3 separate regions of the Homo sapiens genome follow, and regions 1 and 3 are each linked to region 2. Evidence: promoter capture Hi-C in 16 types of primary human blood cells and fetal thymus (Javierre and others, 2016). All regions are on one chromosome and are shown on one strand. The core of a region is centred on a gene start or on the middle of the fragment in contact, and the rest is flanking DNA. Distances in the headings are between cores, read along the strand shown. Region 1 overlaps GLRA2 (glycine receptor alpha 2). Region 2 holds the start of FANCB (FA complementation group B). Region 3 overlaps GLRA2 (glycine receptor alpha 2).

Region 1 (4,012 bases), core at 489-2,988, 170 kb before region 2:
CAAATGGGGTCACTTTCAAGGAGTGGCCGGGCAATGTGCAACTAGGTGTATTTGCTTTGATTATCTTTTCTAGGTTTTGTAAAGCAGCCACTGTCAATTTTATCAAAACAGAGTTTCTCAGAAACAATCACGCCCAGATCTTCCCTGACAGAACTGGCCAACCCCAGTCTATTAGAAGCTGATGCCCCAGGTCTATGCAATAAAACTCTGTTTTAATGTTATCGCCTCTGCTCCAATAAGAAATATGTGCACCATGTGAAGTTATAACAACTTCTCTACAATGCAGCCTCACCTGCATTTATCTCCCACTTTCATTTTATATCTGGCTGCACCATGCCTTACTTCTGGCATTGTACCTAATTTCAAATGTTTCCAGTTACCCAGATAGCCCTGACTTCTTTTTGTTCAGCTACTAAATAGAAATTGTGGCTGCTTGAGAACATGGTTATGGCATGTGGGCCACCTAATGACAAGTTGCCTTTTACTTATTTTTCTTCTATTTTGTTTTTAATTGACACATAATAGTTGTATATATTTATGGGGTACAATGTGAGGTTTTAAGGTTTTATACATTGTATTATGATCAAATCAGGATAATTACTGTATCAATCATATGAAACACTTATTTCTTCACCAAATCATCTCTTCTAGATATTTTGAAATATACAATACATTATCATTAACGATTTTCACCCAACTGTGCAATAGAAGACCAGAACTTATTCCTCCTATCTAACTGTAACATAGTACCCACTGACTAACTTCTCCTCATCTCTCCCTCCCCCTCATTTTCTCTAGGCACTGATAACCACTATTATACTGTCTACCCCCATGAGATCAAATTTTTTAGATTCCACATATGAGTGAGATCACGTCCTTTGCAGGGACATGGATGGAGCTGCAGGGCATTATCCTCAGCAAACTAATGTAAGAACAGAAAACCAAATACCACTCATTCTCACTTCTAAGTGGGAGCTAATGATGAGAACGCAGGGACACATAGAGGGGAACAACACACACTGGGGTCTTTTGGAGGGTGGAGGGTGGAAGGACAGAGAGGATCAGGTAAAACTAATGGGTACTAGGCTTAAGACCTGGGGTGATGAAATAATCTGTACAATAATCTGTACAACAGACCCCCAGTTACAGACATGACCCTCAGTGTGGGATAGGTGAAATGTGAGAGATGGAGGTAGCGATGTCCATGAGGCAGTCCAGCACTCAGGAGAGAGGACTGGGTTGGACAGACATGCTGAGAAGTCATTAGGATATAGATGGAGGTTAAAGCTATGGAAGTGGATAAGATTACCCAGCAGGAGTGTACAGAGTGAGAAGAGAAGTGGAGGAGAAAGGTTGAGAAAGAGCAGGAAGGGGCAGGGACGGAGCAGGAAGAGGGAATGGAAGGGGAAGGCAGTGTAAGGGAAGGCAGTGTAAGGCAAGGCAGAGGGCTGAGGGCAAACTCCTGTGAGCACCAGCATATCAGAGACAGGCAGGGGGAAAGGAGCCCATGAGAGAGACAGAGAAGGTCAGACGGCTATGTAATCACTCAGAGGCTAGAAAAAGAAACATATTCAGGAAGAAAATTCATAGTATCTAAAGATGTGGAGTTCACATAAAATAAAAGCTAAGAAGCAGCCATGGATTTTAGGAAGTCAGAGGACATTGGTAACCTCAACAACAGCAGGCTCAGTGGAGAGACGGAGGCAGACACAAGATTTTAGGCAGTGTAGTAGTGAAGTGGACAGTGAGGAAGTGAGGACATTGAATGCAGCCATTTTATCCAAGAAAAAGAGGCAGAAGTGGCTGAGGAGGCATATAGGCCATGGATTTTTTTGTTGGTTGGTTGGTTCTTTTGCTTTTTATTTAGTGTTTTTTTTAATGAGCAACTTGAGTACATTTAAATGCTGATGAGAGAGTTGTTTATAGAGAGAATAATATTACTTACAGGAGTTTTGAGGAAAGGTGGGAGAGCATACTTAGGTGGAGCCACTAGCCATACCCAGTAGAAGGTATTCCTTCTGATAACTGGGAGACAAAAGAAGGAATAAGAATAAGGACATGGCAAGTTTGTGGGTGGGTGGGTAGGCGGACAGGATTTTGAAGGAATCCCCACATGATGGCATCTGATTGTTTTCTGTGACACAGGAAACACATTCATTTTCAGAGAATAAAGAGGGAGGTGACAGAGTAGGAGGTGTGAGAACAGTGGGAAAACTTTGAAATGTTTGTGAATTGCGAAATACATCACCAGGAACCCACAGAAGTTTTCTCAAGCAGGCTTAGGGTCCATCGGACGTAGGGGAAATTGGATATGTAGGGGCATCAATGTGCTGGATTCGGTGAGGTTCTCCAGAGGAGCTCAGCAGCCTAGAATAACCAGATGGTGGGTTCCACAATTGATCCAGGCAGGACTGACTGAAATAAAAATGGGCAACCCCTGGTTCAAAAACAATTAAGAATTTCAAGATGGCAACAGCAGAGCATTAAACTAAGCCTAGCACCCCTCTGTGTATGGACCCTGTGTGTCTGCACAGGTTGCATGCCCGTGAAGCCAATCTTGGATCCAAGCTGAGGGTTTTGCCAGACAGGATGGATGAATGGATAAAAATATGAATCACGTGATGGTCCAAGCAGGGTAGAGAAAGGGGGATACTGTAAAGAAGAGATGAGAATGAAAGGAGAATATTTTACACATAAGTGAAATAAATGTAAGCAATAAAATGTGGCAGTTAGCCCACTTATTTATTCTTTATTTGCAATAAAACAGTTAACTCTAGCTTTTAATTTCAATGATTCTTTATATTTCTATAGTTACCAAATTTAGTTGAAGTTCTAGTTTTGCACAGACCTTCTTAAGGGAGTTTTGCTTTACAGATTTTTTGAAGGGAGTTCAATGTTTAAATGAGAAAGAAAACTTGTATCAACTAGTGTCCTTTTTGTGTTGTTTTGTTTACTGGGGTAGACAGGCTCAGACAAATATTTCAGTGCAGAATGTTGTGTGCTGTGGGAAAGGTTTAAGTGCATGATTTAAAGTGATGACTGAGGACAAAGCATCTTCTCCACTTGGTAGTGCCAGGGAGTTGAGCCTTTGTCTGGGTCTTGACACAGGAGTAGAAATTTGCCAGGTCAAAAGGAAAATTAAGAGGATATCCAGGCTGAGGAAACGGTTATGCAGAGGTTCAGATGTTAGAAACGACATGATGCTTTCACTACATCATAAAAAGTTGAGTCAGGAAAGTGCTAAAGCATGGGGCCTAAAAGGAAGGAAGACTTCAGTTGCTCTTGAACTGGGAGCCACCAAAAGGCTTTATAAATGATAGAATGCTACAATCAGATTGGAACTGTGGAAACATCACTCTATATAGAAAGGATCAGATTGGAATAAGGCACAAGATCAGGAAAATGCTGCTTCAGCATTTCAACTTAAAAACACCCTTAATTTTATAAGTAGTCTACACTTCCCTGAAGCCCCTCCCTAGAGGCATAGATCATTATTACTATTTTGGTTTGCCTTTTTGTAATTTTGCTAGAACTAGCTTTCCAAATCTGGGATGTATATTATAAACTTACCAAAGCTTGTCTTAAGTGTGAATATAAAAGTGGCTTTCTGGTTTGAATTCTTTGCAGTAACACAGGTGTCTTATCATTGCTGTAACAAATCACTACAAACTTAATGGCTTAAAACAGGAAAAACTTATTATCTACACTTCTGTAGGTCCAAAATGGGCCTCACTAGGTTAAAATCAAGGTATTGGCAGGACTGCATTGCTTCTGGAGGGTTGTCACGGGGGTTCAAGGGATTGGGGGCCATATCAAAGAAAAAGATATGACCACGCAGGCAGTAATACACAACAAAGTTTATTGGGTGGCACTTGGACAGGGTTGCGTGAAAAGGTGGCTCCTCACAGCATGAAATGATCCAGAGGCTTAGAGACAGGGGCCACCATACAGAGAGGAGAGGACAAGGGGACTCCCAGTGGGGAGGTGAATCAGAGGGGGCTCACTTGTCTAG
Region 2 (3,952 bases), core at 456-2,955:
CTTAAATAAAAGGGAGAGATGACTCTGAAGGTAATTTGGCAGTCAACTGAAATGCATATACCCAGTAGTTTCATTTGTAGATATAAACCCAGAGACATAATCCCACATATGAATGAATACATTGCTCTAGAAGCTCACTGTGCTGATATTTGCAATATAAAAAAAGTAAAAACCTCAATGAACACCAATAGGGGAATGAGTATAGATGGACTATCAAACAAGAGTTAAAAGGAATGAATTAGATCTATCTATCTATATATGTGTGTGTGTGTGTGTGTATATATATATATAATCATGGTTAAATTTCAAAAATAAAATGAATTAAAAATTAAGTTGCAGACAAATGTACACTGCAGCATATTATTTATGTAAAACAAATAAAACAGCATTATATATGTTCTATTTACCTACAATGACTACAGTCCCTGAGTGCTTTCTCAAGAAATAGTGCCATGTACTATTTTTTTTTTTTTTCCTGAAGAAACAGTGCCAGGTACTGCTCTAAGCACTTTGGATTAACTCGTTTCTTCCTCACAACATCCTTATGACATAGGCACTGTTACTATCCCATTTTATAGATGGAGAAACTGAGGCAAGGAGTTTCAGGATCTTCTCAAAGGCTTGCAGATAAGAAGTGACAGAGCCAGGATTCAAACCCAGGCAGTATGATCCAAAATAAAAAAATGTAAAACTGTAAACATTTCATGCCAAATTCTGAATGCTGTTGATTCTGGACAAGGAAGTGTCCAGGATAGGTGAGTAGAGGTAGAAGGAGACTTTAGTTATATCTGAAATATCTTTTAAGGATGTAGTCAAACAACGTTTAAACAATGTGTTCATTTTTTCCCATAAAAAATGTAAATATATTTAAAAGTCTAGGACAAAAGATGCTAACATGCCATTCTGTCATGGATGACTACGGTTGATGGAAATATGGGGGACTATTCTTACAACTTGTTTGTAGTTTTCAGTATCTTTCAACTTTAAAAAAGGCAATATTGTATGCGCAACTATTTTCTTTCAATTGTTTTTAACTGACGAATAAAATTTGTTCCAGTCCCTTTAAATCTAAATCTTTCTCAACCTTGACACTATTGACATTTTGGGCTGGATAACTGTTGTGAATTTTCATGTACACTGGAGGATGTTTGGCAGCTTCCCTGGTCTCTATCCACTAGTAGCCAGTGAGCATCTCTTTTGCCCCCGGCCCCTAGCAGTGGTGACTAAAAATGTCTCCAGAGGTTGCCAAAGGTCCCCTGGGTGGTAAAACCGCCCCCCCCACACACACCCCCCCACCCCCCCGGCTGAACACAACTACCTTAATAAGCCGAAACACGCTTTTTTTAACTTTATATAATTATTTGAGATTAAAGATTTCAGAGATATTTTGCTCATTAAGCATCTCACACTCCAAGTTGGAAGGATACTGAAGGGATGAAAAAAACTTCAAGCGAATGTAGCACTTAAAATCCAATTATCATTGCAAGGAATGACAGACCCAGGTCTCGGGATGCCCGCTTCCTTCCCTCTCTCCCGCAATGCGGGGACAAGGGGAGGAAATCCAGCCCCATCGCCCCCTCTGCGAAGTCCTGGGAAGGGAAGACTCGCCAGCCCCATCCTACCTCAACGCAGCGGCAACATACCGGAGGCCCCACGTCGATACGGTATCCATCTGCTCCAAACCTCCCGCCAGCGCGCTGCATCCTGGGAGGCCGGGCGGAGGCTGCGTCGAACGCAGAGGAGGCGGAGCCTAGAAGCCAGCCAGGAGAGGTGGCCAAGGGAGGCTGAGGAGGCGGGGCCCTGGGGAGTGTTGTGAAAGCAGAGAGCCCGCGAGCTCTCTAGGGCGGAGCTCCGCGGGGGAAGCGCCGGCGATCTCGCGGCTGGCGGGGGCGGGACCGCAGTGCGGGGGATGTCGCGGGGCGAGGCCAGACGAGAATCGAATGGGACCTAGGCTGAGGGCCTGGTCCCGCCTCCAGACCCAGGCGTCCGCATTGGATTGGGCGGTGCGGCGGCGCTTCTGTCCGCCTTCCGGTGTCACGCGACCGCCTCCCCCTCCCACCCTTCTCTGTCTACCTCTGGGCGGGACTGCCGGGTGATGAGATACTCGGTCGGCGACGGTAGAACGGGCGACGGCGACAACCGCAATCACATCCACGACGGTGATCATGGCAGAGGTGAGGAGCCTATTGCACCGCCGCTGGCCCCCCGGACCCGGAAGCCGCCTCTGAGGCCCGGGGACCGAGCGCCCGTGTGCAGGTGGGCTGGGTTGAGGGTAAGCGGGTTGATGCAAGTAGTATCTAAGGTCCCATCGTGTCTCCCATCCAGAATCACGCCCAGAATAAAGCCAAGCTCATCTCTGAGACCCGGAGGAGGTTCGAAGCTGAGTATGTGACAGGTGGGTACTCTGTTCCAGGTATTAAGAAAGGTGTGCAGTGAGCATCCCCAACTTTGCTGGAGTGTTTGTGAGTGTATTTGTGGGAGGTGTTAGGGACCCTTTCGACCCTCACAGGAATGATGCTGGGCACGTCTCAAAGGTTTTCCTCTCCATGACAAGCCGTGTGCACTGCTTCAAATGGTCAAGTGGTGTGTCCCATGCTCCCTTTAAAGGGTTAATGTAAGTTGGAAATCGGTTAAGTTTTTAGCATGCCCTCGTGTTTATGGAACTTGCAGGATACTTGTTAGGCCCACAACACGGGTGACATTGTCCAGTCCACGGTTCCACTGCTGGCCTTTCACCAGCAACACTAGCGAAAATGTACCTGGAAACTGCCATAATACTATTGATGTGTACTTAATTGGGTATACAAATTCCTTGGATATTTTGTTTGATTTGGCTTTCATACAACCCAGCATGCTACCCACAAAATAGGCCCTCCAATGCTGGAACAAGTTCTTATCCCAAACTGTATCTTGCAAAGTACCTATGAGTCCAGAATTGATTTATTGGTTGAACATTCTGTGTCCAGATGTCACAGATACTTGAGTTGTCAGGTACTTAACTGAATATTTAATGCTTGTACAGTAATTTTGTAAAACATACGGAATAACTTATTGTAAATATGGAATTAAATAAGGATTTATATGTTGCCTACCTTAAGATTGATTGTAATCCTAACCCTGCCACTACATAGCTTACTTGTCTATTCTGAGCCCGTTTTCATATCTGTGAAGTGCAAATAATAAAGTTAGTAGGATTAAATTTTTTAAAAAAACATAAACCATCTAGCATGTCTTAAAATATAGTGGATTCTCAGTGAATATTTTGCCTCAGTTGTCATTTTGGTTACTGTGAAAGGAGTTAAGCTTCTACATCTTGACTAGTACTCAGCAGAGGTTCCCTGCAACTTTAAACCATCCTAGATTATACATCAGTTGATGACATAGAACAAATATGGAAATCGGTTTCAAATACTTGTCAGTAAATCTTTTCATACCTCCTTGCCAATTTTCTTCACACCCCAAACTTTGTTCCAGAGAGTTGCAAAAGCACTTGATTCACTTTTCACCCAGAGTTCCCATTTCTAATAATATAGCTGGTTCCAATAAAGAGATCCTTCTTCAATTGCTTTCTACAGAAATGTAACTATTATAGCTGTTAATACATGGTTTATAATATTTTAAGAAGTAACTCAGAATTCGACCTAATGAGCTAGTAACACCCCAATAGTCATTTATTTATGCCCAAGGGAGGAAGCAGAATACAGGCAGAAATTAGGCAATAAACAAGATCTTAAAGGTCATCTTGGGGCAACCTCCTCATTTTTAAAATGAAGAAAGTGAGGTCTAGAGAGATTAAGAGATTTGCTCAAAATCCCTGATGTTATTGGCTAGGCCAGGACTAGTGCTCATGTCTTCTGATTTTCACTACAGTAATCTTTTGGCAATACCATGATGTCAAGTTAGATCATGTCACTCTCCAGCTTGAAACCCTTCAGTGCCTTTCCAACTGCGT
Region 3 (3,773 bases), core at 801-3,300, 150 kb before region 2:
TTCTATAGCACTACAGTAAACAATAATTTATTGTATTTTTTTCAAAGAGCTAGAAGAGAGGATTTTGAATGTTATCAACACAACACAGTGATTAAGTTTTGAGGTGATTTATATACTAATTAACTTGATTTGATCATTACACATTGTACACGTGTATTGAAATACCACCCTTACCTCATAAACATGTACAATTATGTGTCCATTAAAATATATTTAAAAATTTAAATGTAGCTCAAAACTCAGGATCTCATCATGTAAGTCAAATGAAGCATCTCAGGTTAAGCATTTTGGATACAGTTAAAAATGAAAACCTGGGAACTAAAGAGACAAGGTATCTGCTCCACTTACTCAACAGACAATATGGAGACATACAGAGGATAACTGTTATAGACTCTTCCATTCAAAAATAGGGGGAACAAGAGGCACACAGCAGTCACTAGTTAACAGGAATTCTGAGACCTAGAAAGGTCCATGTTGGAAGATCCTTGTTTGGGGGATATATTCCTTGGTTGTCCTCTCTAGTTTTTGGGTCTGCTCTCTGGACTCTTATTCTGCTATTTGAAACATCTTTCTTTTTCTATAAGAAGGGGCACTTGTTTGCCACTGAGTAACCTTTTTAGTCTATTTATTGTCTTTAAAAGATTAGGAGTCTAAAGACCTCCTTTCATTTTATACTATCTTTGTTGTTTTCAGTCCAAACATACAATTCCTTAAAAACTGTTGGGGGCAGGGCTGGGCATGTTGGCTCATGCCTGTCATTCCAGCATTTTAGGAGACCAAGATGGGAGGATTGCTTGAGTCCAGGAGTTTGGGACCAGCCTGGACAATATAGTGAGACCCCCACCTCTACAAAAAAATTAGCCAGACATGGTGGCACATGACCCGTCCACCTTGGGAGGCTAAGGCAGGAGGATCACTTGAGTCTGGGTAGTCGAGGCTGCAGTGAGCTGTGATCATGGCACTGCACTTCCAGCCTTGGTGACAGAGTGTGACCCTGTCTCAAAAAAAAAAAAAAAAAAATACTGTTGGGGTTTATATATAAATTTATAATCCACTTCATTAGACAAAAGCTATACTCACAAATATTTTCAAGATAAACCCTGTTTTAGTTAGGAGGATTACGTTTTAGAGATGTATTGCATAGCATGGTGACTATAGTTAATAATAATGTACATTTCAAAATTGCTAAAAGAATAGATTTTAAGTGTTCTCACCACAAAAAATGATTAGTATGTGAAGTAATGGATATGTTAATTACCTTGAGTTAATCATTCCACAACAAAACACTACATTATACTCCATAAATATATACAATTATTATTTATCAATTATAAGCCCTTGTTATCTTAGGCTCCCTGTGAGTATGCTGTGTGGCCCAACACCCTTAATATTCGTAGAAGCTTATTGTTTAGAGGAGACAATCTGTAAGGCATGTTCTTATGATCCTTATAAGACCTATTGCCTGTCTGAAAGAGCTTATCAGGTACTGCTTTAGATATTTCTCAGGTTTTAACAAAGAATCGTACAGTCCCACCCTGTATATGATTTTTTCCCCTGAGGCCTGTTCTGATTTGAGGACCCTTCGCAGGCTGAAAAGACTTATTCTGGATCCTTTACATTTCCTCCAACTTCTACTTGGACACTTAATGGCCTGTTCTTCAGTTCTTTGTCCTCTCTCAGTTTGGTATCAGCAGCTAAAAGCCAAGCAGCATCCTCAGTGCTCTATCTGGAAATCTCCTTAGGTAGATGATGAGGTTTATTAAGTATATTTTCTATTTTCCATGTTACCACAGGAAACAATGTTGGTAAACTTTTCCCCATCCTCCAGCTTTCCACAGCAATTGCCTTTCTTTCCTCCCAGTCTTCCAACAACCTCCTTGAGGGCCTTCCAGCTTCTGCCTGCTGCCTGGTCCCAAAGATAATGCCACAACATTTCAGTTTTTGATACAGCATCAATTATCTGTGTAGCTATCTATTACTGCATAATAAATCATCCAACATCTTAGTGGCTTAAAACGATAACAAGCAGTTCATTATCTCTCACACTTTCTGTGTGTTAAGAATTTGGGAAGATCTCAGCTAGGCAGTTGTGGTTCGGGGTCTCTCCTCTTGGTGCAGTCAGACAGTAACTGGGGCTGGAACAGCTGGGAGTTGGGCAGGCATCATTCTTTCTTCATGTACTCACAGGGCTTTTCCATGTGATTTCTCCACATGGGCTACTTTGAGTTCTTCATAGCATGGTGGTCTCAGGGCAGTCAGACAGTTGACATGGTGGCTCATGGTTCCAAGCACACCAGGATTGGAGCTTCATCACTTTTTATGACCTAGACTTAGAAGTTACTTAGTGTCACTTCCACCAAATTCTGTTGATTAGGAGCAAGTCACAAGCCCACTTAGACTCAAGTGGAGGGGATACAGACCCCATGTCTCAATGGAAAGAGTGTCAATGATAATACTGTTAAGAAAAAAGCATATGGGATGGGAGATATTGTTGTGGCTATCTTTGGCAAACACAATATAATACAGTCTGTGACTTCTATATGACATATGGAAGCATGCAGAGGAGAAAGAAGTGGGAACTGCTTCTCTTCTCTTTGCCTTGCCAACATGCCACTATGCTATCCACAGACCAGTTTGAGAGGGCCCTGCAGAATGAGTGTAGGGGATCCCACCAGCTGACCTAAACCATGGCTACTCCATAAAGCTTCCTTTGGAATACTTAGCTGACATGCAGAATGATACTTATAATTTCATTTTATCCTCAGCATCAGAGCAAAGATTTATTCTGAATCCAAAATTATTTACAAGTATTGCCTTATCTGGGTAAAACTTGAAAAGTATTTAAAAGAATAATTTTAACTGTATTGGCTAATGGCTGATTTTAGCATAAGTCACCTTCAGTATTTTTTGTCTTGCAAACAGTTTGGGGTTGAAAAGAAAGACTGCCAGTCATGCATTAAAATATAACCAAGTGTATGCCTCCAGCTGAGATCTCTCTGAGTTACAGACTGTCCATTGCAATCAATCACCTACCCCATGTATCTATTCGAATGTCTCAAGTGCACCTCAATCGTATTATTTTCCCCAAACTTAATGTGATCCTCTTTTGGTGTCTTCTTTCTCATTGAATGGCATTAATATCCATCTAGTGGTTTAAGCTGGAGGTTAACCTTGACAATTTCCAATCCATCTCTAAGACCTGTTGATTGCCCCTCTATGTCTCTAGTTGGCACATTGCTCTCTACCTATACCACCACCCATTAAATCCAAATCATTATCATCTCTCATCTGGACCATTGCTGTAGCTTTGTAACTTCTTGGATTCACTTTTGCGTTCCTCTAGGCAGTCATCCACATGGCAACCAAAGTGATTTATTTCAATATGCTGATCTGGTTATGTCATGCAATCTCCATTAAAAGCCAGTTATGGCTCCCCTTGGTTCTCAAAATAAAGCTTCATCAGACACTGGTTTACAGGGCCCTATATGATGTAGCCCCTGGTTCATTTCTGAAACATTGTCTCACTCCACACTCCCCCTGTATTCCAGGCCTCAGTTGCATCCCTCAATTGCAGCAAACCCTCCTATCTCAGACATTGCCAAACCCTGCCTTCACCTCTTTAATGCCTCTCATTTTTTAAATCTCTAATGAAATATCACTTCCTAGGGGAAAAGCTTCTCTTATCTGTCAGATTAGACCAGGACCCCATTTAGTAAGCTCTCATAGCATCTTATAATTTTCCTTCAGAGCCCTTATCATAGTTAGTAATTATG

What was found. Contacts are between HindIII fragments. The CHiCAGO score rates a contact against its expected background, and 5 or more counts as called.
Region 1: a fragment that was not itself captured here is called in contact with the fragment with the promoter of FANCB in region 2 in 1 of 17 cell types (neutrophils); the score reaches 8.7 in neutrophils.
Region 3: a contact is called between a fragment that was not itself captured here and the fragment with the promoter of FANCB in region 2, in 1 of 17 cell types (neutrophils). The highest score is 5.2, in neutrophils.

Annotation. Positions count from the first base shown.
Region 1 is chrX:14,698,945-14,702,956 of GRCh38, forward strand. The region is part of intron 8 of GLRA2 (glycine receptor alpha 2); the gene reads left to right. It also overlaps a transcript of FANCB not described here. Among named protein-coding and RNA genes, the nearest start is that of GLRA2, 170 kb to the left of the region's middle. The HindIII fragment of the contact is 3,669 bases long and covers 1-3,573 here.
Region 2 is chrX:14,871,364-14,875,315 of GRCh38, forward strand. It overlaps FANCB (FA complementation group B), which reads right to left and starts at 1,706. Exons shown (of 10, transcript NM_001018113.3): 1 at 1,623-1,706. It overlaps MOSPD2 (motile sperm domain containing 2), which reads left to right and starts at 2,058. Exons shown (of 15, transcript NM_152581.4): 1 at 2,058-2,174; 2 at 2,326-2,395. The coding sequence starts at 2,166. RefSeq lists a silencer at 1,796-2,025. The HindIII fragment of the contact is 4,870 bases long and covers 1-3,301 here.
Region 3 is chrX:14,720,120-14,723,892 of GRCh38, forward strand. The region is part of intron 8 of GLRA2 (glycine receptor alpha 2); the gene reads left to right. It also overlaps a transcript of FANCB not described here. Among named protein-coding and RNA genes, the nearest start is that of FANCB, 150 kb to the right of the region's middle. The HindIII fragment of the contact is 1,304 bases long and covers 1,399-2,702 here.